Regions from separate parts of the Homo sapiens genome. Here region 2 is linked to region 1. Evidence: promoter capture Hi-C in human tissues and cell types (Jung and others, 2019). All regions are on one chromosome and are shown on one strand. The core of a region is centred on a gene start or on the middle of the fragment in contact, and the rest is flanking DNA. Distances in the headings are between cores, read along the strand shown. Region 1 holds the start of ADAMTS12 (ADAM metallopeptidase with thrombospondin type 1 motif 12). Region 2 overlaps SLC45A2 (solute carrier family 45 member 2).

Region 1 (3,131 bases), core at 354-2,853:
TGACTGACATCTAACCCCAGTGTTTGCTGGCTCCAGCTTTCCAAGTAAAGCAAAGAGAGGGACTTGCTTCTGATACGTCTTGAAGCCACAGCAGATGAGTTGTCCAGCAATATTTGAATTTTACAACATGAGCAGAAAACCCTGCTTAGAAATCCTAAACAAGGACAGGCTGGTGATGTTTATCACCCGAGTGGCCTTGGGAATTAAAGGGATGTCAGAAAGTCATGGAGGACACTTCCCGAGGCTTCAGCACAGTCAGCAAACACAGGACTTAGTGCATGCTAACCCAGTGCTCTGTGTGCGTGTGCATGCGTGTGGGTGCATATGCGTGTGTGTGTGCGTGTGTGTCCCTATTATTGCTACAGGACAGTGCTGCATGATTCTAAGAGTCAGACTACCTGAGCTGAAAACTCTGCTCTACATTAGCTGGCCTCATAAGCTCTCCAAGCTGCAGCATCCTCATCTGTACAGCAGGGACAGCAACACTGGTACCTGCACCCTGGAAGGCTATTGCCAGTGATCGGATGGGCTGACACAGAGTGCCACGCGGGCCATTGCTGCTGCTAGGACTGTTTACCCCCAGAGGTACAATGAACCCCCCACCAAACATGAAGGTGCCTCTGACCCTTCCAAGTCCAATAAACTGCTGACTGTTAGGCTTAAAAGAATAAAACAACAACAACAAATTGTCCACCAGAACGCTTCCAATGCTTCCTACAATAACATGAGTTCAGAAATTCATAAAGAGAAGCAGCCAGCTGTGGTCAGTGAGACAGGACAGGAAAAAGTGAGCCCTTATGGAGGTATAGTTCCCCCAAAAGGACTATTCTTTCAAAAATACAACCCTAAATCTTTCCAGGAAACCAAAACACAGCCAAGCCTGCTCAGTAGGGGGGAAGAATCACATTTCCCCTTTCCTGACCAGAGGTTTAAAACTAACTAGAAACACTGCAATGACGGCCAGTAGCCAGTTAGCACTTAAAAAAAAAATTTTCCATGTTTAGAGTCTGAAAAATAGGGGATCAAAACAGTACAGCATTCAAAGAGGAGACAAAAGAGAAAAAGTTACCAGCTACCTCTTGGGTCTTTCAAAGACTGCAGTGTCATCCCTGTAAAAGAGTGAGGTACTCACCTTTCTATAAGAATGAAGGACTCATCACCTTAAGCACTGAATTCTGAGAAAGCCTAGGCTCCTGAGGTCCCAGCCCAGATTTCCTTACAACGCAGCCAAATGGCTTTTCAGAGTTCAGTTCTGCCGGGTGGGGGAAGGGAAAGGGGAGCAACAAAATTCCCGCAAGTCTTACCACCACTGTTTTAAAAAGAAATAAAGAAGAGTCACTAACCTTGCCTCCTGTCCGGGAAGCGAACCGGGCCTGGCTGAGGCTGTCTCCCATAGCAAAGCGCCCCAAAGTTAAGGAGCTGAGCCACCACGGAAAGGTTTGCAAGCCAGCTCCTCTGGGCACATGGCATGATTCAGATGTTGAGGAGAAGAAAAGTCAAAAAAGTTTTAGCCCTCAGCTCCAGAAATAAAGCGCTCGCCTGTGGCCCAGCAGGAAGATGCAGGGGTGCATGGTCAGGCGCGAGAAGGCAGCGACTGCAAAGCTGCCCGCGATCTCCCTGTGCTTTTTTAAGCAGAAAGGAGCTAGACACCTTTTTCCCCTCCCTCCTCCTAAAAGGGGAGTGATTCAGCTGACAGTGTCCGCTTTCGGCGGGGTGTGGAATGGGCCAGAGCGGGAGGGCGCAGCCCACCCCGGTCCCCACCCCTCCGCCTCCCGCATGCCCCGCGGCCTCGCAGCCCGCCCGCTCGGTGCATCTTCCTCCCGGACTCCCACCCCCGCGCTCCTCCGGCCCCGCCCCGAACGCCAGGCCCAGCTGGCCGAGCCGGCCAAATAGGGGAGACCCGGGAGAGCCGCCCTGGGAGGCACTGGAGGAAGCTGCGAGTGAGAGGCCCCCAGGCCAGCCCCCCGGCGTGCTTAAATACAAGCTCAAAATGAGGAGAACAGAGTTGAGGCAGAGGGGGGCCCCACTCCCTCCATCCTTCCGCGCTCAGCGCTGCCCCCTCCCCTGCTGTTCTCCTCCAAGTTCCTGAACTTTTCCCAACATCGCTCTATCAAGACTCCTCACCCACTCGGACCGCTCTGGGATTCTCTTCCACTGGAAAAACTAATAGGCGATTTTTCTCTTTGCCAAGTCACACAAAGGGAAATGGGCTGCGCTAATCTGCTAATGTGACCTCAGACAAGCCCCCTCAGCTGTGCAATGAGGTGACTGCTGCAAATGCCTGTGGGCCCCTCTGAGTCTGCAGATCTCTGTGCGGCTCTTCTGATTCTAGAACCCCATCTTTCCTAGCCCACCTCCATTCACTCAAAAGGAAACCAGGAATTAAGTCAACCCAGGAAGGTGTTAAGGTATCTCCCCAGTTTCCCTGAACTGGCTACCCTGGAGAGGGCGTCCATTCATTCAGAGGCTCAAGCTTTTACATCGGTCAGAGAATGCCACAATCCAGGACGCTTGCCAGGCATCTTGAGAATTTACTGGGCTAATCCAGCCAAGATTTTTCACCTCTGAGCTGAAACAGGCCTCCTTACTCCATTCAGGAAGAATTCGGCCCCCAATATTGACTTTTCCCTGGCTGCCAGCCAACCACATGTGTTAATCAAGAGTTCTGGGATACCAGCTTACTCAACCTTGTATAGGGACAGAGCCTCCAAGGCAAACTCAGTGGTCTGAAAGCAAGGTGGTCCTCTCAGATGTGGAACACATGGGCACCAAGACTTTGAGAGGTATATGCTAGTTTCCTATTTTTGGTGTTACAAGTTACCATAAATTCAGTGGCTTGAAACAACTCAAATTTCTTATGTGACAGTTCTGATCTGAAACTGGTCTCACTGGGCTAAAATCAAGGAGTTAGCACAGCTGCATTCATTTCTGAAGACTCTAGGGGAGAATCTGTTGTCTTGCCTTTTCCAACTTCTAGAGGCTGCCTGAATTCCTCAGCTCATGGCCCTCTTCCCCCATCAAAGCTAGCAATGGCCCTTTGAGTCTTTCTCACATCACATCACTCTTCTTCCTCCCTTTTCCACTTATAAGGACCCTTGCGATTACATTAGACTCATCCTGGTTAACCAGGA
Region 2 (3,131 bases), core at 195-2,694, 70 kb after region 1:
CTCTCTCTACTATCTGCAACTTTTTTGTAAATCTAATTAAACTTTGATTAAGAAAGCAAAATAACACATAGGCACACTTTTCTAGGTGACAACTCCATGGGGTAGAACAAGGGCTGTGGTGTTCACTAGTCTTCTGATGCTCAGCACTGGGTCTGGCAGGTGTAATTAATAGCTATTGAATGAATAAAAGAATGCACAAGTGAATGAACCAAGCACACAGTGCAACTCATTCCAAGACATCTTATTATTCACCCAAATAAACCCTCCTGGGTACCTCTTTATTCCCTGTAGTCAGCAGCTGGATTAATATCAAAAACAAAAAACCAACCAAAAAAAGCTAACATCAAGGAGTCCTTTGCCCCACTAGTTTTGATGGACCTCCATCATCCACCTAATAAAATTTTAGTTCCTATGCTGGCATTCAAAAGCTTCCAAAATGTGTCTCCAATTTGCTTTCCTAACTTTATTTCTAAAGTTACAAACTCTGTGATCTATGGTACCACTTATACTTTCTACAAATATGCTTCATGCTTTAAAAAAAATTTTTTATGTCTGTGGCTTTGCTGATGCTCTTCTGTCAGAAGTACTTTTCCCCCAAAATCTCTATTCAAATCCTAACTATCATTCAAGGCACAACTCAGGGGCGATCTCTTCCATAACGCTTTTCTCCATTTATTTAGGCACAATCCTTCCCTCTTTAAAACTAAAAGCAATTGCTATTTTGCCATTTGTGGCCACCTTGGAAATGTGCCGTTTGGGTCACCTACCAGAGAAAACACAGTTGATCGACAGCGCTGAATGCTGCCTCTCTGGATCCACTGTTCCTGTTCCTGCCAAGGAACTCTGTTCCTGTACCTGTTCCTGCCAAAGTTACCCCTTTCCTGGCTGTTCCCAGATAGTGACTAACAAGACGGGGGGTATTAGTGTTAGCCTGTTCCTACAAGAGTTGGGACTCCTCTAAGGAGCAACTTTGGCTGGAGGACTCCCATTTGGCCTGAGTGAAGCTTTCTTGAAACTTCACTGCATCTGAGAGGCTTCCTACCCTATCCTCTTTCCTTTCCTTTCTCCTTTCACAGGTGTTTGACTTGCATCAACATAAGAAGACTTTCCCTTCCTATTTCTGCTTTCTCCACTTTATCTTTCATGCTGTTTTCTCCAATGAATCTCTTACATGTCAAATCCTATCTTGGTGCCTTTTTAAAAGATCTGAACTGATACATTGTTTTATAGCATTTACCATGTTCTATCATGGATTATGAGTCATGGTATAAATGGCATATGCCACGTGTTAGGCTGCAAATTCCTGGGCATAGAGACTGGACATTTGTCAGTTTTATGGTCCCCAAATATCTAGTACAGTGCTTTGCACATACTCAGTACCCCAAGCTGTTTGTTAAATGAATAATGATTATAATGTATTGATATATTTATGTGAAGTTTGAAAAAGTGTCTTTGTATGCTTTATCTTAGTTGAACATCCTAATAATCCTAGAAAATAGACTGGCCAAGCCAACAAAAGAAGTTGACCTCACAGGAAGGTGAGATTCACTGAGCTTGTCTGAAAGTTGTTGGAGTCCAGATTTGTGTTCCCTGTTTGTGCTTAAGGCACTCTAGTGTTCTGCCAGGGTCAAAATAACAAGGCCTAAACCCAACAGCTTATTATGTGGTTGCAAACACTCTAAGTAACTTTACCTGAATTAGCCCCTGCAACCTGCACGAAACCCTTGTAGGTAGATGGAATTATTTTATCATTTAACACAAATGTAAATGCCCAAAGTCATGCAATCCAGAGGTGGTACAGCCAGGATTTAAGCACTGTGCTCTTAATCTTTAGGTTACCCTATAGCAAGTAGCTATTTGTGATTCACTGAATGAATAACACAAGTCAGCAGCTAGAGGAACCAAGATTTGAACTTAAGTCTTCTACAACATTTTGTCAATCAAGAAATCCTCTGTTCTATATCCCTGAGGTTTTGGCATTCAATTTTAGCTTGAAGGAAAATGCAATTATTTCATCAGTGTTGTCCAACAGAACGTTCTACAATGATGGGAATGTCTTACATCTGCACGTCCTATATTTTAGCTAGAAGCCCTATGGGGCCTTTGAGCATTTGAAATGTAGCTAATGCAACTGAAGAAATGAAGTTCTAATTTTATTTTTATTTTAATTTAAATAGCCCCACGGGATTATTAGCTACTATATTGCTCAGCTTAATTCTAGTCTCTTCTCTGATCATTTCATCTGAACATGGTCTCATTTCTCTGGCAGTTAGTTGAGTTTTATTTCAAATTTTAAGCTGATGAATTCACTGTGCAGTTCGCTGAAAATGAACGAAAATATCCAATCAACTCATGACAGGCAAATTCGATATGCCCAACTCAGTCACCAACCCAAGGATGCTACCATTTGGAGGAAAAAATTTCTAATTTATGATCCTAATCTAAGGGGATATTTCTTCTGGCCTAAGGATGATTTTAGGCTTCTCTTGTTGCCTAACCTTTCTCAACTGGCTTCATCTTCCCTGGTTGGATGCTACCTGAGAGGAGTAAGAGACAGGAGGACCAGAGGAAAATGCAGACATTTTTCTTTGAGATATAAAATTTTAATTCCAAGGGATGATAGCTACGGGGGATTTGGGAATTCAGTTAGACCCCATGAAACTCTTCTCGTCAAACAGACAAAACAAACAATTAAAAAAACAACAACAACAACAAAGAGCAAGAATATTTTCCCTTGTAAAGAAAAAATGTTGCATCTTTACCTGTTCAGCATGATTTTTGTTTTTTGCTCCCTGCATTGCCAGCTCTGGATTTACGTAACCATTTTTAACTTTCTCGATAGAACCATACTCGTACATTCCATCTGATGACAATGGAGGGTCCTGAGGGGTTTGCTGTGGGGGAATGCCCTTTGCAACCTCTGTAAGTGGGGCTTCAGAGATACTGCACAGATGAACAGTAAAACACAAAGTGAGCACCAATGCAGAGAAGAAGAACATGACCTGGAATTCTGTACCCAACAGTCTTCCCAGCTCCAGATGGGCCCAGTCTATAGCACCCAAAAGGTAACCCAGGGCACCTCCAAAACCTGGAAAGCAAGAAAAGCTATGTTAGCATATTTAGCAAATTAT

The links. The method cuts DNA at HindIII sites, captures the fragments that hold promoters and counts their contacts. A contact is called where the count stands out against the background at its distance.
Region 2: a contact is called between a fragment that was not itself captured here and the fragment with the promoter of ADAMTS12 in region 1, in 2 of the 25 tissues and cell types used here (aorta and small bowel).

What each region holds. Positions count from the first base shown.
Region 1 is chr5:33,890,387-33,893,517 of GRCh38, forward strand. ADAMTS12 (ADAM metallopeptidase with thrombospondin type 1 motif 12) reads right to left here and starts at 1,604. Exons shown (of 24, transcript NM_030955.4): 1 at 1,344-1,604. The coding sequence starts at 1,470. RefSeq lists enhancers at 886-1,387, 1,388-1,887. The HindIII fragment of the contact is 6,841 bases long and covers 1-3,131 here.
Region 2 is chr5:33,960,929-33,964,059 of GRCh38, forward strand. SLC45A2 (solute carrier family 45 member 2) reads right to left here. Exons shown (of 7, transcript NM_016180.5): 3 at 2,763-3,088. Among named protein-coding and RNA genes, the nearest start is that of SLC45A2, 22 kb to the right of the region's middle. The HindIII fragment of the contact is 4,261 bases long and covers 1-3,131 here.